Linked DNA regions of Homo sapiens: all the other regions are linked to region 5. Evidence: promoter capture Hi-C in 16 types of primary human blood cells and fetal thymus (Javierre and others, 2016). All regions are on one chromosome and are shown on one strand. The core of a region is centred on a gene start or on the middle of the fragment in contact, and the rest is flanking DNA. Distances in the headings are between cores, read along the strand shown. Region 1 holds the start of MIR4519 (microRNA 4519). Region 2 overlaps LOC124903679 (a long non-coding RNA gene). Region 3 holds the start of FBXL19-AS1 (FBXL19 antisense RNA 1). Region 4 overlaps SRCAP (Snf2 related CREBBP activator protein). Region 5 holds the start of FUS (FUS RNA binding protein). Region 6 has its middle 6.5 kb from the start of ARMC5.

Region 1 (3,829 bases), core at 626-3,125, 300 kb after region 5:
GTGAAACCCCATCTCTACTAAAAATACAACAAATTAGCTGGGCGCGGTGGCGGGTGCCTGTAGTCCCAGCTACTCGGGAGGCTGAGGCAGGAGAATGGCCTGAACCCAGGAGGCGGAGCTTGCAGTGAGCCGAGATAGTGCCACTGCACTCGGGCCTGGTGAAAGAGCGAGACTCCGTCTCAAAAAAAAAAAAAAAATCTGGACTCAGGCCGGGTGACGTGCCTCACACTGTAACCCCAGCACTTTGGGAGGCTGAGGCAGGAGGACTGCTTGAGCCTAGGAGTTGAGGCTACAGTGAGCTATGTGTTGCTACCCTTCAACCTGCGCGACAGAGCAAGATCCTGTCTCTACCAAAAATAAAAAAAGAAATCTGGACTCCAGCTACCCTTGAAAGCAGATATTCTGAGATACTGAGTTTGCCTCCTGGAGTGGTCATGGGGCGGAGGTTGGTGGGGTAGGGGGGTAGGGGGTGCAGAACACTGACTGCCCTGGGGGCGGAGTCTCTGCCCTTCAGTCCCCGCAATCCCTACCGCTCCCTGGTGTTCCACTCTCCTCCTTGCTGTTCACTTGCATGGCCTCCAGGCTAATGGCTGAGTTTTGCGGCCAGGCATTTCAGGCCTCCCAGCCTTGGCCTCTGCTCACCTTCTCCACCTCCTCACTCCCTGCTCTAGTCATCTTCATCTCATGTCCTGCCCTCCAGCCACATGGGCTTCTTGGTCCCTTCCACACCTGTTTTTGCCCATGGAGTTCTCCCACCAAGTTCCTTATGGTAGAAAAGCCCCTGCTGGATTTGGCCCCTGCCCACCTCTCCTGCCCCTTTCCCCAAGCTTTCTTCCAACTCATGCATAGAACTTCTACCACAAGGAAGCTGGCCAGGCTGTTAGCACTCCCGTTCCCTCTGTCTGTGAAGCCCTTTCCTTCCCTCCACCCTCCCCTTCTCTCTCTTATCTCAGGCTTTGGGTTTGATTTCACCTCCTCCAAGGTTCCCTGACCTTCAAACTAGGTCAGGTCCCTGGTTAGTCACTATACTTCCTCTTTCTCACCTCCTTCATCTCACTTCCCCTGCTAGAATAAGGCCACATCTGTCTCATAATCTCTGTCTTCCTAGGGCCTAGTGTGGTGCCTGGCATACAGTAGGTGCTCATTAATGATAAATGAATGAAAGCAAGCACATCTCCCTTTCTCTACTGGCAAAATCCTAATCCTTTTCTGGTTACATTTCTCCTGTAGCATCCAATTCTGTTCTCGAGACCCAAAAGATCCCTGAGGTCCTGTGATCAATGGAGTTTTAGCTCAGGTCCATTTCACAGTGGGCCCAGGGGATCCCCAGATTCATCCGTGGTTATTTCCCCAGGCACAGAGTGAGTGCACTGGTGGCACAGGCATACCCAGCAAGTGGCATAATCCCCCCCATTAGTTAACTGGGTGTCGCTGTGCATGGCTGTGAAGGCAGGGATGCACCTGGCTGGTGACCCCAGAACCCCTCCGGGTACGGCACAAGGGCAGAGCCCAAGAACTTACTTTCTGTCCTCTTGCATTTGCCTGTGGATTTGCAGTTGGTAATGGCGTTCTTGCCCGGCCCTCCTTTGTTCCTCCAGGCAGCCAGGCAGCTGTGGCGTAGTGAAAGGGCAGGATGCGGGATAGGAATGGAGTTATTCCTGATTCAGACTGATTTGCTCTAACTGTGATTTGGGGCAAGTCCCTTCCCCTGTCTAGACCTTAGCTGGCTGCCGCATCTAAAAAATGGAGCCAATAATCTTTTCCTCGTCTTTGGGGTCATCCATCTTTCAACCACATCAGGAGCAGCGGGAACCAAGTGCAGAGGATGGCCTTAAAAGCAGTATGGGAACCAAATTTTTGTAAAGTAAATATTTTCAACCTTTATATTTTGGAATCACCAGCGGTATTTATTACGTGCACTCTAGGAAATGGAGGCAATGCAATGCCAAAAACAGAAAGTAAAACTGCTGTCCTGTGCCGCGGCCCGGTGGAGGTTTTAATGTCTGTATCTTAAGATCTGGTGAGGGCACGGGTAGGTGCGGCTGGACTGAGTGAAACCAGCCCCGCTGGGCGCCTGGGCCCTTGTCTCAGGGCTGTGCTCGCAGTGGAGGCATCTGCAGCTCGGCACCCAGAGGCCCCGCGACCCTTCCAACCTTTGTGACGCTCCGCGGAGACAAAGGCCGGCGGCGCAGCCTTGGGAAGGGTTAAGGCCACAGACGCAGCCCTGCGCGTGCTAGAGCGGCCGGTGGCGGACTTCCGGTTGGGGCGCGGGCGCGCGCCGCGTGTTCCCGACCCGCCGAGGCTGAGACCTCGGGCAACCTCAGCAGTGCGCAGGGCTGCACTGTCTCCGTCTGCGGCCTGCAGTAAGCGGGTAGGGGATATGTCGCGTGGCCTCGCCTGGTCTGCGGCGGGAAACTCGCATCTAGGCCAGACCCTCCCGCAGGGTCCGCACTCGCGATCTGGGCTGTGGGCAGCATCGTGGCCCCTCGGGGCGTTATAGGGGCGTGAGGATCCCGGGCGAGCTGGGGGCGGGCGGCTTCTTCAGCTCCCTTGCGCCATGGAACCCACTGTATGCCCGTTATGCAGTCAGGAAAGATGAGGCCGGGAAGGAGGGCGTTACGCTGCAACCCCGGAGACCAGCTGTCCCTCGCGTTGCCGCAGTCGGCAGAGGCGTGGCCGGAGCCATTCCCGGTCTCCAGTGCGGCTGCAAGAGCGGGCGCCCGAGGGCGTTCTGCTCCGGGCCTCCACCCGCGAGCTGACCGTGTCAGGCGCGCCACACACGGCGCTTCTCATTCTCTCTCCACCTCGCGAGGCAGAAGCTGCCGTTCCCGTGTCACAGACAGAAAAACAGTCTGGGGTGATTTATCCGGAGTCAAGACTCAGGTCTGTGGCTCAGTCGGGAAGGATAGAAACCCAAGCTTCCTCCGAATGGTTCAGAGACCCGACCAAGTTAAATAATAATGGCCCTGGCTCAGGGGTCTTTAAGTCTTCCCCCCGCCCTCCCCTTTTGTTTTTGTTTTGTTTTGAGACCGCCTCACTGTCCCCCAGGCTGGAGTGCAGCGGTGCGATCTCCGCTCACTGCAGCTTCGACCTCCCGAGGGCTCAGGTGATCCTCCCACCTCAACCTCAGGAGTGTCTGGGACTACAAACACGCGCCACCACGCCCGGCTAATTTTTCTGTTTTTTGTAGAGTCAGGATCTCGCTATGTTGTCCAGGCTGGTCTGGAACTCCTGGGCTCAAGCGATCCTCCTGCCTCGGCCTCTGAAAGTGCTGGGATTACAGGCATGAGCCACCGCACCTGGCTACCCTTTAATTAACTCAAGGAGTTTAATAATTGAATTTAGGCTGGGCTCAGTGGCTCACGCCTGTAATCCTAGCACTTTAAGAGGCCACGTCGGGCAGATCACTTGAGGTCAGGAGTTCAAGACCAGTCTGGCCAACATGGTGAAACCCTGTCTCTACTAAAAATACAAAAATTAGACGGATGTGGTGCCACACACCTGTAATCCCAGCTACTCGGGAGGCTGAGGCAGGAGAATCCCTTGAACCCGGGAGGCAGAGGTTGCAGTGAGCCAAGATCGCACCACTGCACTCTAGCCTGGGCCACAGAGCAAGAATCTGTCTCAAAAAAAAAAAAAAAGGTTTGACACCTATACCTTCCTCTGTGTGTGTGTGTGTGTGTGTATACATATATCTATATATATATGTATATAGAGAGAGGAGGAAAAATTATATAATTTTTCTATATGTGTGTGTGTGTATATATATCTGTACAATTTTTTTTTTTTTTGAGACAGTGTAGCTCTGTGGCCCAGGATGGAGTGCAGG
Region 2 (4,032 bases), core at 814-3,313, 370 kb after region 5:
CTGTCTCAAAAACAAAACAAAAACCCAGATGTGGTGGCATGTGTCCATGGTCCTAGCTACTTGGGAGGCTGAGGCAGAAGATTGCTTGAGCCCAGGAGTTTGAGGCTACAGTAAGCTATGATCACACCACTGCATTCCAGCCTGGGGGAAAGAATGAGGCCCTATCTCTAAAAAAAAAAAAAGAAAGAAAGAAAGAAAAGAAAAGAAAAAAGAAAAAGAAAAAAATGTGAAAGCATCTGTCGTTCTCTGGCACACACTAGGTGCTTGATGCCTTTGATGCCTATCAATTTCCCTCTCTGTCCTTTCTTTGGGAAACTACTTCTCCCAATATAACTTCAAGAGTTTGAAGTTGTATTTTTTTTTTTTTTTAATTGAGACGGAGTCTTGCTCTGTCGCCGAGGCTGGAGCGATCTCGGCTCACTGCAAGCTCCGCCTCCCGGGTTCACGCCATTCTCCTGCCTCAGCCTCCGGAGTAGCTGGGACTACAGGCGCCCGCCACTACGCCCGACTAATTTTTTTGTATTTTCAGTAGAGACGAGGTTTCACCGTGTTAGCCAGGATGGTCTCGATCTCCTGACCTCGTGATCCCCCCGCCTCGGCCTCCCAAAGTGCTAGAATTACAGGCATAAGCCACCATGCCCAGCTAATTTTTGTATTTTTAGTAGAGATGAAGTTTCGTCATTTGGCCAGGCTGGTCTCGAGCTCCTGACCTCAAGTGATCCGCCTGCCTCAGCCTCCCAAAGTGCTGGGATAACAGGCTTTAGCCATCGCGCCTGGCCATTGGCTCCAATAAAAAAAAGAAAAAGAAAAAGAAAAGAAACACTCTTTGCCAGTTGAAACACATTTCCCAGTTGCATCTGCCAATCTGTGACCTCTACTTAGGGAACCAAGATAGATCAGGTTAGAGAGGTAGGCTTGAGCCAGGTTTCAAATCCTCTTGAGAGGTGGGCTTGAGCCAGGTTTCAAATCGTCTTGAATGCCAAGCTGAGTTTTGACTTGAACTCACAGGCAGTGAGTAAATCACTAAAAGGTATTTTTGGAACGAGGGGTGGCCTGAGGCAAGGATTTGGGGACTCCTTGTAGTGGAGTTTCACGTGAAATAAAAGGGAGAGGCAGGCAAGGTTGCAGGTTGTTGCAACGACACAGGTTTGCGGCAGTACGGCTGAGGGAGGGCTGGAAAGACGGGTTGGATGGAAAAGATGAAGCATAAAAGTATGGTCAAGGGAGGACGAGGGAAGCGGACGGAAAGCAGGAGAGAAAAACTGAGGTTCCGATTTGATTGAGAATGAACCCTCTCTCGGGAGGAGGGGCCAGGTAGTTTAGTTTGGTGCTGGTAGTGCTGAGTTTGAGAAGCTGACCCCAAAATCTGGTCTTGACCGCAACACGGAGTGGGGCCTGAGCTCCTCGGTGCAGCCCCAGCTCCGCTACTCGCTGCTGAACGACCTTGGACGAGCCCATGTCTAAATCAGACTTGATAAAGGAGTCGCCTCTAAGGAGGAACTGGGATCCCCTCCTTCCCAGGCTGGTGCTCGGGAGGGTGGAGGATGGAAGGAGCGGGTCCTTCCCCCAGGGAGCTCGGGGTCTACAGCAGGGCGGGGAAGCGGCCCTTCCAGAAGAGGCAGGAGAGGGTCGCTCCCTCGGCCAGCCTCGGGCCGCCTGGGCTTTACTGGGAAAAGCAGCCGAGGTCCTGGAAGAGTCGCGCCCCGCGGCCCCCGAGGAGAGCCGCGGCCCTCTCCTTGCCTCCCCAGCGCCTGATTCTCCCTTGCTGGAATTCGGGAGTCAGGGATGCCTTTGGGGAATCCCTTCCCCTCCTTCGGTCCTCGGCACTGCCTCTGAGCTCGGAGGCCCCGGTCGCCTGGGCCCGGACGCCGGCCCGGACGCCAGCCCGGGAAGCAGCAGGTCAGGAGCGGGAGCCGGAGCCAAAGCTGGACCCAGGCCGGAAGTGCGGCGCCCTCCGTGGGCCTCTCTAGGAGCGGAGGCGACCGCGTCTCAGTGGGAATAACCCCTTCAGCTCCGGGAGGCCGTCGCCGCGTGAGGTGTTCGCTCGCTTTCCTCCTGAGAAGGGCCGAATGATGGCCGCTAGTCACTCTGGGGACATTTGGAGGATTGAATGCCTGTAACCGCGCAGGGCCCACGGCCTGGGTTTCCATCCCCGATCCGCCTCATGGCTGAGCTCCTCGGACAAGTTATTCAACCTCTCTGAGTCACAGCTTTCTTCCTTGCAAGGGGTTGCTGTAAGGATTCCATGAATTAATGCATGTGCAGCACTCAGAAGAGAGGCTGGACCCCGCGTGGTGGCGCGCGCCTGTGATCCCAGCACTGGGAGGCCAAGGCGGGAGGATAGCGTGAGCCCAGAGGCTTGAGGCTGCAGTGAGCTATGATCACGCCACTGCATTGCAGCCTGGGTGACAGTGAGACACTGTCTGGAGGGGAAACAAAAAAGCTATATATCATTTTTTTCCATTATTTATACTCTGCTATAAAAGAACTTTTGGTGGAGGGTCACGTTTGAGACATGAGAATAAGAAACATGATAAAAATGATAGTAATAACTGCTATTTACTGAGAGCCTTCTGTGTGCTAGGTTCCTTACACACCTTATCTCTATAACCTCAGGGCAATTCTGTGAAGGGAATGTTAATATTATTCCCATTTTATGGATTAAGAAACGGGTTAGGCCAGGCGTGGTGGCTCACGCCTGTAATCCCAGCACTTTGGGAGGCCGAGGCAGGTGGATTACAAGGTCGGGAGTTCAAGACCAGCCTGGCCAACGTGATGAAACCCCCTCTCTACTGAAAGTATAAAAATTAGCCGGGTGTGGTGGCGGGCGCCTGTAATCCCAGCTACTTGGGAGGCTGAGGCAGGAGAATCGCTTGAACCCAGGGGGCAGAGGTTGCAGTGAGCCGAGATCACACCACTGCACTCCAGCCTGGGCGACAGAGTGAGGCTCCGTCTTAAAAAACAACAACAACAATAAACGGGTTAATGGCCAGGTGCGGTGGCTCATGCCTATAATCCCAGCACTTTGGGAAGCCGAGGTGGGCGGATCACGAGGTCAGGAGTTTGAGACAAGCCTAGCTAACATAGTGAAACCCCATCTCTACTAAAACTACAAAAATTAGCCAGGCATGGTGGCACGCAGCTGTAGTCCCAGCTACTCGGGAGGCTGAGGCAGGAGAATCGCTTGAACCCGGGAGGCAGAGGTTGTGGTGAGCCGAGATCTCGCCACTGCATTCCAGCCTGGGCAACAAAGCAAGACTCCGTATCAAAAAAAAAAAAAAAAAAAATCAGTCACAGTGGCTCATGCCTGTAATCCTAGCACTTTGGGAGGCCGAGGAAGGTGGATCACTTGAGTTCAGGAGTCTGAGACCAGCCTGGCCAACGTGGTGAAACCCTGTCTCTACTAAAAATAAAAAAATTAGCGGGGTGTGGTGGCAGGCGCCTGTAATCCCAGCTGCTCGGGAGGCTGAGGCACGAGAATCACTTGAAACCAGAAGGCGGAGGTTTCAGTGAGCCGACATTGTGCCACTGGACTCCAGCCTGGGTGACAAGAGCGAAACTGTCTCAAAAAAAAAAAAAAAAAAAAAAAACAGGGCCGGGTGTGGTGGCTCACGCCTGTAATCCCAGCACTTTGAGAAGCGAAGGTGGGTGGATCACAAGGTCACGAGTTCAAGACCAGCCTGGCCGAGATGGTGAAACCTCGTCTTTACTAAAAAAAAAAAAAATAGAAAAATTAGCTGGGCATGGTGGCAGACACTTGTAATCCCAGCTACTCGGGAGGCTGAGGCAGGAGAATTGCTTGAACCCAGTGGGCAGAGGCTGCAGTGAGCCGAGGTCATGCCACTGCACTCCAGCCTGGGTGACAGAGTGAGACTCCATCTCCAAAAAACAAAAAGAAAGAAAGAAACAGGTTAATAACTGAGTATATGTCAGAGTCTGATTTGAACTCAAAACTGCCTGATTCCAGAGTGCACAATGCACGATTTTCCCTCTCCTCTGCACTGAATCTCCATTTGGGAAACTTTTTCTGGG
Region 3 (3,810 bases), core at 1,256-3,755, 260 kb after region 5:
CCCGGCTGCTCGACGACATTGGGGGCGTCAGCAACGCCGAGGGCTGTAGGTGGATGGTGGCAGGGTCAGATGGGCCCACTGGGGCCCTGGCCTGGGAGACCCCTGACAGGTCCCTCCACCTACAGGCAGCTAGAGCCTGCCCTCTTCCTCAGGGGGACAAGGAGGTCACCCCCTTCTGTGTATCTGGGGGCCAATCCTCTACTCAAGGCCTGTCTCCCTGCAGCAGCTCAAGAGGAGCCCAAGAACTGCTTCCTGGCCTCGCTCCTCTACCGCCTCCTCAGGGTCCCTTCCCTAGCCCAGGGAGCAGGAGGGGACACCGAGGCCCTCTCCTCTGCCATCCCCACACCGGAGCTCCTTGGAAAGGCCAGGCACTCCTTGTCCGTGGTGTTAGCTTGGAGAGATCCCAACTCTTCCCCTGTTATCCGAGTGTAGAATATCCCAGGCTCTCCCCAACCTCAATCTGGGGTAAACTGCCCAGATTCACCTCCCAGATACCCAGAGATTCCTAGACGGAAGCTCCGGACTTTTCCTCCCCCCCGCCCCACCAACCTTTTCATCCACAGCAGCCATCCAATCTCTCTTCCCCTCAACCCAGTTATCCTCACCAGATCCAGCGAGATCCTTGCCCCCAAGTCCCTAACGATCTCCTCTGCCCACTAACTCCCCAGAGCTCTGACAGCCCTGGAGATGCTTCTTCAGAGACCCTTCTCAGCCCAAGATCTCAGCCCCTCTTGTTCCCCACAGGGTTCCCTCCTCCAGGACACCCTCCTCTTGGATCCCTCAGGTCCACCTGGGCAATCTCCCAAATTCCTTGGGATTCTAGAATCCAGCCTGACATCTTCCCAGAACTGAGGATGGGCTCAGTCCTAGGACCCCCAGCTTCCCGGGCTGCTTTCATCCCTAATCATCTAGAATCCCTTGGGCTCCCCCTCCCATGGAAACCAGATCCTCCAAGATCCCATGTGGAATTAGAAGCCTGGAGGGTCTCTTCCCAGTCAGTCTTACCCCAGATTCCCCCTTTCCGGGGACTTTCATACCCATCCATGGGGCTAAGGGGCCCTCCAGCGCTCCAGGGGAGGGGCCTGGAGGGCGGCGACTGCAGGCGGGGGTGGGGGCTTTCAAGGGGAAGCAGGGTCTAGGAAGGAGGGCCAGTTCCCCAGGGTGGAGAGGTCATAGGAAGGAGGGCTGGAGATGAGTTTGGAGTAGAGAGAGGGTGAGGCTGGGGGCGGGGAAGGTAGAGAGAGGCCGGGCTGAGGATGAATGGGAGTGGGCGCTGCCCAGGTCTGGGGGTGAGGAGGAGCCGCATGAACCCACCTCACACGTGTCCCGGGAGCCATCTCTCCCTTCTCGGCAGCTCCCGGCGGGTCGGCGGCCATCGGCGGCGGGGGGGCCGGGCGGCGCGGGGCGCGGAACGCTCAGAACGCCGGGGTCCACGGCCCCCCGAGGGCGCTCGGCCCCTCCCTCCGGCGGAGGCCGGGACGGCGGCGAGTGGAGATGGGGGGCGCCGGGGGCGAGGCCCTCCCACGGGCTGCGGCGCGGCCCTTCCAGGGGGAGGTCCTGCTCTGGGAGGCTCAGTCCCTCAGCCCCCCCAGGCCAACGGGGGCTCCTTGGGCGCAGGGTGCTCAGCTTCTGCCCGGGGCCCACTCAGTCCCGGGTCCGAGTCCCAGCTCCCCTCCCCCCACCCCGCCCCGCCTCTCCCCAGCGCCCCTGGCCCTTTAACTGGCCCCTTCCCGGACCCCACTGCCCAGGGGTCCAGTGCCAGGCCTGGGCCCCCCCCACCGTTTCCGGGGTTCAAGCCCGCCCACCGCCGGTTCCCGGGGAGGGGGGGGTCGCTGTAACCTGCCCCCCTCCCCTGGGCCCGCCCCTGGACTGCGACCCCCTGCCCTACGGCTGCGAGGCGAGCGGAGGGGGAGGTGAAGGAAGCTGCTCCGGCCCCGCCCCCCCCAGCCCGCGCGCACCCCCGACCTCTCCCCCTCCCCCAAGCGCGCGACCCTCGGGAGATAGGGATTTAAATAAAATTTGAATAAATCCCCCTCCTCAAGCGGGAGGGTGGAAGGAAAGGATAGAGGGGGAGAGGGAAAGGGGAAGGGGGCAGTTGGGGTGTCTCAGCCCCCCTGGTCCCCCAGCCCCGCGCTGCTACGGCCCGGGGCCCTGGCCGCCTCTCTCATCCCTCCTCAGCTCCTTCCTCCTTCCTCCTCTCTTCCCCCCTCCCCTCCCCTCCCTCCTCCTTCCCTCCTCCTCCTCCTCCTCCCCCTCTTTACTCCCTCCTTCTCCCAGAGGAACCCCGCCCCCTTCCCCCTCCTTCCTCCACCACCTCCACTTTCCAGGACGAACGCACGCAGGGCTCGACGGGAGTTGTAGTCCTGCGGCCACTGATGCTACGGGGGAACAATAGGACGCTGGGGACAGCGGGAACTACAAACAGGACGGCGGAGGGCGTGCCCAGCCGGGAGCCGAGGATGCCGGGAGTTAGAGTCCCGTTGCCCCGAGGCTCCCAGTTGCAGAACATCGAGAAGGAGAGGGAACGATGACTACAAACAAGATGGCCTTCTCCCCCGACCCGACCTCCTTCCCAGGCACTCACACGCCCTCCTGTCCACAACCCTCCGCGTGTGTGGTACCTGACGGGAGTCGCAGTCCATCTGCTGCCTTCCCGCTGCCATTTCTACTCGTCAGGAACAATGGAAAGGTGAAAAGGAAAGAGGACTACAAGCAAGATGGCGGAAGAGGGACATACACCTGACTAGTAGTCGATCTTACGAGGTGCGATGGGATTAGTAGTTTTATAGCCTTCCAGTGTTCCTTAAGAATGGCGGAACCAGGAGGACGAGGAGACTACCGTAAAGATGGCAGGCTACCTAGCCTCTCCCGGTCTCCGCTTTCCACCACCTTGGGCACCTCGCCCGCCTGTGGTCTCGAAATCCCCCCCACCAGTGGCGCACGGCCTGACGGGAGTTGCAGTCTCCCGGCTCCCGTCTATCATCTCAAGTCGAGACAATGGAAGGGGATGGGGCGGGGCCACCGGCAAAGATGGCGGCTGCAGGGCCGGGGCGACTGCGACATGGGATGTGTAGTCCAGGCGTCTGGCCTCTTCCCTGCGGAAATGAGGGAGAGGACTACGAAAAAGATGGCGACCTCGCCCCTCGACCTCTGCGCCGGTGCCTGCTGGGAAATGTAGTTCCTTGCCGAGTCCAACAGAGAAAGGACGTCGCTGTTGAAATGTGAATCCCGGCGGACACGCCAAATTGCGAGGCGACGGAAACGGAAAGACTCTTTTCTCCTCTCTCCGCCACCGGCTTCTGAACAGCCTGGCGGGAAATGTAGTCCCAAGCTTTCACTCGCGAGTGGAGGGGAAGGATTTATGTCACCAGTGGGGATCAGTGCGGGTGGGGGAGAAAAACGTCGGGCGATCCGGGAATAAAGAATGTCCGCCTCTCCATGGGGCGAGGACTTCGCGTTTCAGGGGAGGGCCCTTAAAGGAAGGCAGCAGGAATCAGTCTTGTCGAACAGGGGGGCGTGGTTCTCGTCGAGAGTGCATTCACACTCTTGTTCCCTAGAAAGCCTGGGCACCTCCCACTCGATTCCTGCTCCTCAGACCTCCGGGAATCAGTGTCTTACAAGACGTGCGGGCTCCGGGGAAAAGGACCTGGAGTCACAGCGAATCCCCGCCCCGCCCCGGGAAGCCACCAAACCTTGCTTTTTCTCATCTGCAAAATGGGGACAATGGGGATAATGATCCCCACCTCGAAGCACAGTTGTGAGTGTTAAACAAGCCAATGTTCTTGTCACCAAAGTGCCCAACTCTGGCAC
Region 4 (3,556 bases), core at 294-2,793, 450 kb after region 5:
CAGGGAGTCCTGGGGGTGAGAGAAAAAGAGGAAGTAATCAGCACCCTCAGAGTCCACATCAAAACCTGACTGTTCTTCCCAGATGGAAATAAATATATAGAAACCATGGGATCCAAAAATACACTATGCTTTTTGTAGTTTTCCAAGTTATCAATGAGAACTATTCTTTCTCAGAAGTTATGTTAAATAACTTTCTTTTTTATGTTAAATAACTATTCTTTCTCAGAAGTTATGTTAAGTAACTTCTCTCCTAGAGAAAACTGATCTTTCCTTGTATGCTACCAAAGCAGAATGACTGAATATTCAAAATTAAGATCTACAATTCCAACAAGTTTATAGAATGGACGATTTGTGGGTATTTTCCTACGTAACACTCAACTCCAGGACTATAGCCTTCTTCAAATCACTGACCAGGATACAGAGGCGCCAATCAAATCCAGACCAGGTTTTTGCCAAGGGCCAGACTGGAATGGGGTGGAATGGGAACAGCTAACCGGACATCCGAGTCTCATCACTCTGAGACAGAAAATGGGCAACCCGGCAGTGAGGACACCTGGATGACTTTGACCCAATCCTTTCCCATCTTTGTGCTTCCAGTTTCACAGTCTGAAAAACTTCTTTGTATCACTTATTATGCTTGTAGTTACACATCTGTATGATTATTTAACTAATATCTATCCACTACACGGTAGGCCCCATACAACATGAACTGTGCCTTGCTCACTATAATCACTCAGTAACTAGCACAATTAAGCTCTCAATACATTTATCTGTTAACAAAATGAACAAATGAGGGAGACTAGACCCCAAGAGATAGTTGTGAAAAGAGGAGTGTTCCAAATCTCCTTCCTGACTGCTACCAAGTTTCACCTCTTGGCTTGAAGTGCTCTATGTGAGGGAAAAAAGGTGTCCTAGCAGACGGAAAAACCAATAAACTCAAAGAGCTAGTTCCTTTTGAGGCTAGCTCCCAATAGTAGCAAAAAGAGAAAATCTGGCCAGGAGCAGTGGCTCAAGCCTATAATCCCAGCACTTTGGGAGGCCTAGGTGGATGGTTTGAGCCTCCTATTCAAGACCAGTTTGGGCAACATGGCAAAACCGCATCTCTACAAAAAATACAAACAAGGGCCAGGCGCGGTGGCTCACACCTGTAATCCCAGCACTTTGGGAGGCCGAGGCGGGCAGATCATGAGCTCAAGATATCAAGACCATCCTGGCCAACATGATGAAACCCTATCTCTACTAAAATTACAAAAAAGTTAGCTGGGCGTGGTGGTGCAAGCCTGTAGTCCCAGCTACTTGGGAGGCTGAGCAGGAGAATCGCTTGAACCTGGGAGGCGGAGGTTGCAGTGAGCTGAGATCGCACCACTGCACTGCAGCCTGGTGACAGAGTGAGTCTCCATCTCAAAAAAAGAAACAAACAAGTAGCCTGGCATGGTGGCACAAGCCTACAGTCCCAGCTACTTGGAGGGCTGAGATGGGAGGTTCACTTAAGCCCAGGAGGCTGCAATGAGCGGAGACTGTGCCACTGCACTCTAGCCTGATTGACAAAGTGAGACACTGTCTCAAAAAAAAGACTATTTGTAAACCATACGTCTGAAAAAGGATCTGTAATCAGAATATATAAAGAACTCTTACAACTCAATAATAAAAAGACAACCCATTTTAAAAGGGCAGAGGATCTGAACAGATAGTTCTTCAAAGATACACAAATGGCCAGCATGGTATTTCAACCACATGAAATAAAGCTCAACATTAGCCAACAGGGAAATTCAAATCAAAATCACAATGAACTACTACTTCACACCCAGCAGGATGGCTATAATCAAAGTGATGATGTGCCAGGCATGGTGGCTCACACCTGTAATCCTAGCACTTTGGGAGGCTGAGGCGGGCAGATCACTTGAGGTGTGGAATTCGAAACCAGCGTGGCAAACATGGTAAACCCCATCTCTACTAAAAATACAAAAAAATCTGGCCAGGTGCAGTGGCTCATGTCTATAATCCCAGCACTTTGGGAGGCCAAGGCAGGCGGATCACCTGAGGTCAGGAGTTCGAGACCAGCCCGGCCAACATGGTGAAACCCCATCTCTACTAAAAATAAAAAAATTAGCCAGGCGTGGTGACGCCATGCCTGTAGTCCCAGCCACTCGGGAAGATGACACAGGAAAATCGTTTGAGCCTGGGAAGTGGAGGTTGCAGTGAGCCGGGATGGTGCCACTTTACTCCAGCCTGGGCAACAGAGCAAGATTCTGTCTCAAAAATAAAATAAAATAATAAGAATACAAAAAAATTAGGTAGGCATGGTGCCACATGCCTGTAATCCCAGCTACGAGGGAGGTTGAGGTGGGGTCACTTAAACCCAGGAGACAGAGGTTGCAGTGAGCCAAGACCGTGCCAAAGCACTCCAGCCTGGGTAACAGAGCAAGACTCCTTCTCAAAAAAAAAAAAAAAAGTATTGGCTCAAATGTGGAGAAACTGGAATCCTCACAGACTGCTGGTGGTAATGTCAAATGCTGCAGCCACTTTGGAAAAGTCTGGCAGTTCCTTAAACAGTTAAAACCTAGTTACAATATAACCCAGCAATTCTTCTCCTCAGTATGTATCTAACAGAAACTGAGAACACCTGTCCATACAAAAACTTGTACATGAAATGTTCACAGCAGCATTGTTCATAACAACCATAAAGCAGAAGTAACACACGTTTCCATCAACTCAAGGATAAAATGTGGTATTCATACATTATTATTCAACATAAAAACAAATGAAGTACTGATATACGCTATAACACAATAAAATTCAAAGAACATTAATCTAAGTAGAAGATGCCAGTCACAATGGACCACACATTATACATTATGACTCCATAGGCAAAACTAGAGAAATAAAAAAGTAGGATGGTAGTCATTCAAGACTAGGAGGGACGGAGGGATTGGGGAATGCTGGCTAACAGGTGCAGCGTTTCTTTTTGGGGCCACGGAAAGGTTCTAAGTTGATTGTGTTGATGATTGTACAACCCTATAAATATATTAAAAACCTATTGTACAGTTTAGGGCCAGGCATGGTGGCTCACACCTATAATCCCAGCATTTTGGGAGGCCGAGATGGGAGGATCACTTGAGGCCAGGAATTCGAGACCAGCCTGGTCAAGAGTGGGAGACCCCCATCTGTATTTAAAAAAAAAACCAAAAACTATTGTACAGTTTAAATGGGTAAATCGAATGGTATATGATTTATAGCACAAACTGTTACCAAAAAAAACCAAGTGGCAAGAGGCTATTATCTACTTGCAGAGCAATCCCTCTACTCTCTACTTCCAACCAGCCAGGACCAACCTAGCGGCTGGTCAGGTAAAAACCAAAGGTGGAGTCAATGGCACTGGTGGAAGGTGGGGGAGTAGGCATGAAGCAAAGACTAAGCAGCAGCTCTGATTACAGTGGGGAAAAGCCAGAGGGCGTGGAGGGACCCACTGGACCTTCCTTCTCCTTAGTTCTGGTTTACTTAAGCTGAACTGTGAGTTTAACTCAAGTACTACACAGACATGGGCCTATATACATAG
Region 5 (3,897 bases), core at 154-2,653:
AGAATCAAAAGAGCCCTTGGACCCCAAATGACAGAGATCATGCAACTGCTCGCCTTAGGAGGCGAAAGTCAACAGGTACTCGAGTCCCCAGCCCTGGGACTCCAGATGGTTCCGTTTTCTCACCTACCCTGCCTTCCCCCAGCGAACAAAAAGCAACAAAAGCGCTTTTGAAAAGCCCCACTTAAGATACACGAACAAGATCAACTCATCCTCCCAGCACAGGAAACGCGGCGCTTCCCCCGCAGGAAAAGGGAAAGAGGACCAGGAGAGGGTGTGGCCTCGGGCGGCCGTTCTTCTCCGTCCCTATCTCAGAAAAAAGAAATTTAGACCAGGCGTGGTTGGCTTACGTCTGTAATCCCGACACTTCGGGAGGCCCAGGCGGGCGGATCACCTGAGGTCAGCAGTTCGAGACCAGCCTGACCAACATGGTGAAACCCCGCCCCTACTAAGAAACACAAAAATTAGCCGGGCTGTGGTGGCGGGCGCCTATAATCCCAACTACTCAGGAGGCTGAGGCAGAAGAATCACTTGAACCCAGGAGGTGGACGTTGCAGTGATCTGAGATCGCACCACTGCACTCCAGCCTGGGCGACAGAGGAAGACCGTGTCTCCAAAAAAAAAAAGAAAGAAATTTAGGCGGGAAAAACTCTCGGGCCGTCCCCAAGTCCGTTGGTCGAACCCTGACCACCGCCGCCAAACCGTTAAGCTAGAGGGCGGCCCCGATCCCGAGCCTCCGCCCCCAGCCGCGTGGCAACCCAGGCGGGAACGGAGCGATCCCGCCCATTCGCGAAGGACCACTGAGGGACAAGGCTCACACCGGACGCGCGCCGCCGAGTCTTCCGCGAAGGGTCTCGCGACAGAAAGCTGAACCAACACGAGGCGGGGAAGGGGTACCCGCGCCGCGAAGGGGGAGGGGCCCGCAGAGCGCGTGCGCGCCGCGAGTGCCCGGATGCAGCACTGCGACAAAGCGGGCTCGAGCGCGGGGCCGGGAGTTGGGGGAGGCGAGGCCACGGAGAATGGGCGTTTTCCACCCTCACCTGACGCTTCAAACCCCTAAGAAGCGTCCCTCCCAACGCCCACCCCAAGCAAACGGACTGCAAAGAAAAGACTTCCCGCCCCGCGCGCGAGGGCCAGAGGAGCGAAACAAAATGGCGACACCAGCCTCCTCCAGTTACTCTTCTCCGCGGCTTCCCGCCACAGGGGCGCCAAAAAATCCCACACGGGATCGCCGCCCCGGTCCCACTGAAAACGAAAAGCCCAGCTGGGAGGCCTCGGCCGGGTGCGCCGCCGCCGTCGCCTCGCGCCCTTACCTACCGTTTGAGGCCATGTCCGCGCACGCGCGCACAGGCAAGCAAGCAACGAAGTTCCAACACCGCTGAGTACCGACGCCTGGAGGACTGAGCAGCCCCGCCTCCTGCGTCGAAGCTTAAGTACGCTCCGCCGCCTACGCACCGCGCAGGCGCGCACCAAACGCGGAAGAGCAGGGGGAGGCAGGAACGCACTCCGCCCCCTTCGTAGGGCAGGTAGAGGGTCCGAGCAGGCAGAAGGGAAACAAGTTAACTAGAATCATGCGAATACTATACATAATCATATTTTTTGAGGAAGAACCCCTCTCTCCTCGGCAGGACTAGCCCACGATCTATCTCCACCCCCATGAAGGCACAGTGGTACGGCCTGAGTGCCCGCTGGGGGCGGGGCGAGGGGGCGGTCCCGGCGGCTGGGGACGAAACTGGAGTCACAGCCGGGAGTAGCGGGGTGGAACCGAGATTCCTGTGGCCGGGCCCCTTCGCTGGGCCCCGCTTTCACCCAGGATGGCGAGCTCCTGCCCTCCACCCTCTTGCCGCTGTATGGGGCGCCTCGTCCCCGCGGCTCCAGCCTCCCTCGTCGGCAGCACACTGGCCCTCCCTCTCCTGCGCCCTGAGGTTGACTTCGTCGTCTTTCAGGGTTGCCTTGCCTTTCGGCCTTTCTGGGGTTCGGGGATTATGACGTTTGACCTGAAAGACAGCAGGGATTTCGGCCGGGACCCCTGGGCCCCGGGCTCGTCCAGCACTGGGCTCTCACCCGGATCCTCATGGCTTTGCCCCTGGGGAGCCACGGGGCGGAACAGCCCAGGCCATCCTTGGGACCAGAGAGGGTTGACCTCAGATGTACGGTACCCAGCCTTTTCTCAGGGACCTCCTTTTTATTTTTCTGAAGCCCTACCAGGGCGATCCCAGAAATAAAACGTGTACAAGGCTTAAGTGGTTTCAAAATGCACAGATAATTTCCTTGTCATCAGTCTTACGAAGGAAGTAAAGATACCTCCGTTTTCTAGATAAGGAAAGTGAGACTCAGAGACCCAAGTAATTGTGCCTGATTACAGGGCAGCTAAGAGGAGTCGTGATTCGAATCCAGGTCTTGTAACTGCAAAACACTCCTCTTTTTGGTGGCATGAATGCTAGAGTGTTTGGTCGCCTTTTCACTTCCTGTGAGAGCAAAAGCAAAAAGAAACATTCAAATTAACTTGCAACTTGCACTTTCATCAGCCTTGCCTGGAGAAGGCAATTTGAAACTACTGAATAAAACAAGACAAAAGACGTTAATTCCTGATACATAGGCATGCAGGTTTTCCTTCCCAACTTAACCTTTCAGCGGGATTTCAGAAGGTCCTTTGAGGGTTGGACACGTCTTTCTAGAGAAACAATGAGGGCCATGCCCTGGGCCCGCCCACAAATTAAGCCCCACTAAGCCCTTGACTTCAGCCCTAAAGGCCCTGAATATGCCAATATCCACCCCACCGCCTTTGGAAGGAGAGTTCAACTCTCCAGTGAGAGCAAAAGAAAGGAAGTCCACCCTTATTCATGCATTAAGTCACAAATATTTATTTAGCACCTAGTATGTTCCAGGCACTGTTCTGGGCACTGGGTATGCATTCGTGTACAAAGCAGATGAAGTTAACATTTAATAATAAAGCTGACCGGGTGCGGTGGCTCACGCCTGTAATACCAGCACTTTGGGAGGCCGAGGCGTGTGGATCACGAGGTCAGGAGTTCGAGACCAGCCTGGCCAACATGGTGAAACCCCGTCTCTACTAAAAATACAAAAATTAGCCAGGCGTCGTCCGCGCATCTGTAATCCCAGCTACTCAGGAAGCTGAGATGGGAGAATCGCTTGAACCCAGGAGGCGGAAGTTGCAGTGAGCCAAGACGTGCCACTGCACTCCAGCCTGGGCAACAGAGCAAGACTGTCTCAAAACAAATAATAATAATAAAGCTGACATTTAATAATGATATACATTGTGCTCATCTATAATATGTAATAGCTAACACTTTAACAAGACTTACTGTCAGGCCCTGTTCTGACTGAGTAAACTCTTGATTTTATTTTTCACAACAAAAGGCTGATGTGAGGATGACATTTTATCTTTTTTTTTTTTGGGGGGACACTGTCTCACTCTGTCACCCAGGCTGGAGTGCAGGGGCGCCGTCTCGGCTCACTGCAACATGTGCCTCCCGCGTTCAAGTGATTCTACAACTTCAACCTCCCAAGTAGCTGGGAGTACAGGTGTGCGCCACCACACCCAGCTAATGTTTGTATTCTTAGTAGAGACGGGGTTTCACCATGTTGGCCAGGCTGGTCTCGAACTCCTGGCCTCAGATGATCCATCTGCCTTGGCCTCCCAAATTGCTGGAATTACAGGTGTGAGCCACCACGCCCTGCTAAGGATGACATTTTACAGATGAGGAAATAAGCATAGAAAGACAGGCAGTTGACCGGGCACGGTGGCTCACGCCTGTAATCCCAGCACTTTGGGAGGCCAAGGAGGGCAGATCACAACGTCAGGAGTTCGAGACCAGCCTGACCAACATGGTGAAACCCCGTCTCTACTAAAAATACAAACATTAGCCAGGCATAGTG
Region 6 (3,812 bases), core at 351-2,850, 270 kb before region 5:
TATTTATTTATTTATTTATTTATTTTTGAGACAGAATCTCACTCTGTCATCCAGGCTGGAGTGCAGTGGTGCAATTGTGGCTCACTGTAGCCTCAACCTCCTGGGCTCAAGTGATCCTCCCACCTTAACCTCCCAAGGAGCTGGGACTACAGGCATACACCACCACACCTGGCTAATTTTTTGATTTTTAAAAAATGTTTTGTAGAGACGGGGTCTCACTGTGTTGCCCAGGCTGGTCTTGAACTCCTGAGTTCAAGTGTTCCTCTGGTCTCAGCCTCCCAAAATGCTGGGATTACAGATGTGAGCCACCTAACCTGGTCTTTTTATTTTTTTAAAGAGCCAACATTTAAATAAGGAGATTTCACATCACAGTCGATTTCTGGGGCTTGGTTTGTTGTTGTTTTTTTTGTTTTTTTTTTTTTTTAATTGAGACAGGATCTTGCCAGGTTGCAGACTGGTCTTGAACTCCTAGGCTCAAATGATCCCCTCCTGGCCGGGCACGGTGGCTCACGCCTGTAATCCCAGCACTTTGGGAGGCCTAGGTGGGCGGATCACGAGGTCAGGAGATCGAGACCTTCCTGGCTAACAAGGTGAAATCCTGTCTCTACTAAAAATACAAAAAATTAGCTGGAAATGGTGGCAGGCGCCTATAGTTCCAGCTACTCAAGAGGCTGAGGCAAGAGAATGGCATGAACCCAGGAGGCAGAGCTTGCAGTGGGCGGAGATCCTGTCACTGCAATCCAGCCTGGGTGACAGAGCAAGACTCCGTTTCAAAAAAAAAAAGAAAAGATCCCCTGCCCCGGCCCTTCCCTCCCCCACCCACCTCGGCTTCCGAAAGTGGTAGGATTACAGGCGTCAGTCACCACACCCGGCCTGCTTTATTATTTATATCAGAAGATGCTGCAACATTGGATTTTTATGGCAGCAGTTCGTTGAGTAGTGGCTGTCCTGGACATAGGAACAGGGACACTCCCTCTTGCATCCCTGACTCAGCACGTTTCATATGTGTTACTTGCCTGTCCCCTGCAGAAAAGTACTTGAGGTTACAGTCTCCATCCCACCCCACTGTGGGTGAGAAGGACCTTTCCATGCAGTGAAGGCACTTTTCCCCTTTCCTTCACCCCTTCCTGTTCCCTTCTCTGCCGTTTTCCTTCTTCTCCCCCAGAACTCCTCTGTGAAATACCTGGCCTCCTTCCCTGAGCCTCCCTGTCTCCCTGCCACCCCATCTCCACTCCGTGCTATGACATCACCCCGTAATTTGAAGCTCCTTTCCCTATCTGAAGGGAGGCAGAGACAGAGTGCACAGGCTCAACTAGGCAAGGCAGACCCTTGCATGCCTGGGTCAGAGGTCAGGGTCTCTGGCACACATTCCTCCCAGAGCAACTGTAGGAAGCAAGCCAGTACAGAGGTACTCTAAGCGCTAGACAGGACGGGGTGGGAGTCGGTAACATCGTCTCCTCTGGGCTGGCCCTGCTTCTGCTTAGCTCTGGGCATAAGACTGACTCCAGTACAGTCACAGTTATGTCTCTGAGCTCACCCAGTCCTGGGTTCCAGGTTCCCAGCTCTGAGCCTGGCGAGACACACACAGGCTGGTGCTGTGGGATGTCTTGGTACGGTGGCTCACGCCTGTATTCCCAGCGCTTTGGGAGGCCGAGGTGGGCAGATCACCTGAGGTCAGGAGTTCGAGACCAGGCTGCCCAACGTGGTGAAACCCTGTCTCTACCAAAAATATAAAAATTAGCCAGGCATGGTGGCACGTGCCTGTAATCCCAGCTACTTGGGAGGTTGAGGCAGGAAAATTGCTTGAACCCAGGAGGTGGAGGTTTCAGTGAGCCAAGATCGTGCCACTGCACCCCAGTTTGGATGAAAGAGTGAGACTCCGTTTCAAAAAAAAAACAAAAAAAACAAAACCAAAAAATAAAAAAACACATCAGCTTGACATTTTGGAGGCATTCCCAGACTCAGGGTTAGTCAGCAGATTAGCATTTAAAAGAAAGTCTTGTCCCTACAGATTCCCTGACCTCAGCTACCCATGAAGGGTGGGAAGAGGAGTCCTTAGCAAGAAGTCCAGGAAGTTGACAACCTCCTCAGACCTGATAGGACACTCCTCTCTCCACCCTGCCTCCTGACTGATTTAATCTCAGGGGTGTGAGGACCTCTGAGATAGGCCCCAGGAGTCTCACCCGCACCACTTATGTCTCAGGGCTAACCAGAGACTCCCTGAAACAGATCCTAGAGGATTCCCAAGTGATAGGATAAATAGAGAGGTACTGAGACTTCCTGGCGTGGGTGACCTCTCCCAGGCTGGCCAACCTCCCCCATTCAGAAATTTGCTGAGCACCAGGAGTGAATGAAGTAAAGGAAGCCCCTAGGAGTTCAAGAAGCAGAGATTTCCAGGTCCATGCACCAAAGCTCATGTGCTCAATTCTCAGGAAAGGCCTCACTCAGTTAAAAAATTTTGTATCATGAAAGGGTAAATGAATTAATTAGTGAATCTGGTTTCTAAGCCAATGGCTTACTAGAAATATTATAGTAAATCAGAAAAAAAAAAAAAGGCGGTGGCTCACACCTATAATCCCAGCACTTTGAGAGGCTGAGGTGAGAGGATGCTTTGAGCCCAGGAGTTCGAGACTAGCCTGGGCAACATAGCAAACCCCATCTCTAGAAAAAATTAAAAAACCAGCCAGGTGTGGTGATGTTCACTGTAGTCCCAGCTATTCAGGAGGCTGAGGCAGGAGGACCGCTTGAGCCCAGGAATTTGAGACTGCAGTGAGCTAGGATTGTGCCACTGCACCCCAGCCTGGGCAACAGAGTGAGACCCTGTCTCTAAAAAAATAATTTTTTTTAAAGATAATTCTTCAAAGGAGATCCGCTCTTCCTTTCCTACACCCATTCCCTTTCCTCCCTTTCCTGAACAATGCTGTCTTACAGCCTCTAGGGGCAGGCAGAGCCAAAGAGGCCTCTGCCGGGTGTGGGGAGTGAGACGCAGCAGGCCAGAGCATGTATCAGAGCTCCAGCAGGTGGGGGAGGGTGTCCACACGAGAAGGTGGCCTGGCTTGGCATGGCAGAACCTGATAGGATTAGGAAGGCATCAGCCACGGGAAGGAGATGGCGAGAGAGATAAGAAACTGCTTCCACCAGCTATTGGTCAAATAAGTACACATTTGAAAGATAACAGCCAGGTTTCTCAGTGTCAGAGAAAACCGAGACACAGCTCGGGAAAGGGAGAAAATGTGGGTGGGGAGACCCTTGTGGTGTCGAATTGGAACTGGAGGTATAGGAGTAGACTCAGGATTTTCAGAAAGTGTTTAGATAGACATAGAAATTAGTATGGGTGTGTATATGTGTATGTGCACGCAGATGTGTGTAAATGTCCATATATTCCCTAGCTCTGGAAAGCCCTGGAGCAGTGCCATCCCAATAACAAAAAGCTTTTTATGGTTTTTTGAGATAGGGTCTCTCCCTCACCCAGGCTGGGGTGCAGTGGTGCGACCACAGCCCACTGCAGCCTCGACTTCCTGGGCTCAGGTGATCCTCCTGTGTCAGCCTCCCAAGTAGCTGGGACTACAGGCATATGCCACCACACCCAGCTAATTTTTAATTTTTTTTTTTTGTAGGGACGGGTCTTGCTACGTTGCCCAGGATGGTCCTGAACTCCTGGGCTCAAGCAATCCTCCCACCTCAGTCTCCCAAAGTGCTGGGACTACAGGTGTAACAGTTTTAAGGTAATCAGAATCAAGAAATGATTGAGGTGATGCTCTGGAATAATGGGGACTAGAGAGTCGTGACAACTAAATGCAATGTGTGGTGTG

What was found. The method cuts DNA at HindIII sites, captures the fragments that hold promoters and counts their contacts. A CHiCAGO score of 5 or more calls a contact.
Region 1: a contact is called between a fragment that was not itself captured here and the fragment with the promoter of FUS in region 5, in 1 of 17 cell types (M0 macrophages). The highest score is 6.4, in M0 macrophages.
Region 2: a contact is called between a fragment that was not itself captured here and the fragment with the promoter of FUS in region 5, in 1 of 17 cell types (monocytes). The highest score is 5.2, in monocytes.
Region 3: a contact is called between the fragment with the promoter of FBXL19-AS1 here and the fragment with the promoter of FUS in region 5, in 2 of 17 cell types (fetal thymus and megakaryocytes). The highest score is 6.9, in fetal thymus.
Region 4: a fragment that was not itself captured here is called in contact with the fragment with the promoter of FUS in region 5 in 1 of 17 cell types (monocytes); the score reaches 6.6 in monocytes.
Region 6: a fragment that was not itself captured here is called in contact with the fragment with the promoter of FUS in region 5 in 17 of 17 cell types (M0 macrophages, M1 macrophages, endothelial precursors and 14 more); the score reaches 25.5 in M0 macrophages.

Annotation. Positions count from the first base shown.
Region 1 is chr16:30,873,811-30,877,639 of GRCh38, reverse strand. MIR4519 (microRNA 4519) reads left to right here and starts at 2,317; the gene lies at 2,317-2,374. It overlaps MIR762HG (MIR762 host gene), which reads right to left and starts at 2,180. Exons shown (of 3, transcript NR_110942.1): 1 at 2,154-2,180; 2 at 1,522-1,610. It also overlaps a transcript of BCL7C not described here. RefSeq lists a silencer at 1,408-1,467 and enhancers at 1,788-1,837, 1,868-2,077, 1,387-2,141, 2,348-2,607, 2,142-2,896 and 1 more. The HindIII fragment of the contact is 2,091 bases long and covers 830-2,920 here.
Region 2 is chr16:30,803,521-30,807,552 of GRCh38, reverse strand. The region is part of intron 1 of LOC124903679 (a long non-coding RNA gene); the gene reads right to left. Among named protein-coding and RNA genes, the nearest start is that of ZNF629, 18 kb to the right of the region's middle. RefSeq lists silencers at 1,816-1,905, 2,046-2,105. The HindIII fragment of the contact is 5,793 bases long and covers 1-4,032 here.
Region 3 is chr16:30,921,964-30,925,773 of GRCh38, reverse strand. It overlaps FBXL19-AS1 (FBXL19 antisense RNA 1), which reads left to right and starts at 2,505. Exons shown (of 1, transcript NR_024348.1): 1 at 2,505-3,810. FBXL19 (F-box and leucine rich repeat protein 19) reads right to left here and starts at 2,202. Exons shown (of 11, transcript NM_001382779.1): 1 at 1,315-2,202; 2 at 1-43. The coding sequence starts at 19. RefSeq lists enhancers at 2,284-2,443, 2,484-2,573, 2,196-3,163, 2,604-3,423, 3,164-3,810. The HindIII fragment of the contact is 5,738 bases long and covers 1-3,333 here.
Region 4 is chr16:30,725,419-30,728,974 of GRCh38, reverse strand. It overlaps SRCAP (Snf2 related CREBBP activator protein), which reads right to left. Exons shown (of 34, transcript NM_006662.3): 26 at 1-9. Among named protein-coding and RNA genes, the nearest start is that of TMEM265, 13 kb to the left of the region's middle. The HindIII fragment of the contact is 4,495 bases long and covers 1-3,556 here.
Region 5 is chr16:31,177,645-31,181,541 of GRCh38, reverse strand. FUS (FUS RNA binding protein) reads right to left here and starts at 1,403. Exons shown (of 15, transcript NM_004960.4): 1 at 1,315-1,403. The coding sequence starts at 1,327. RefSeq lists enhancers at 128-177, 278-337, 368-457, 1-643, 644-1,405 and 4 more and silencers at 688-737, 858-1,007, 1,648-1,717. The HindIII fragment of the contact is 6,651 bases long and covers 1-1,427 here.
Region 6 is chr16:31,451,087-31,454,898 of GRCh38, reverse strand. No RefSeq gene overlaps it. Among named protein-coding and RNA genes, the nearest start is that of ARMC5, 6.5 kb to the left of the region's middle. RefSeq lists enhancers at 672-1,443, 1,444-2,216, 2,797-3,091. The HindIII fragment of the contact is 3,667 bases long and covers 1-3,433 here.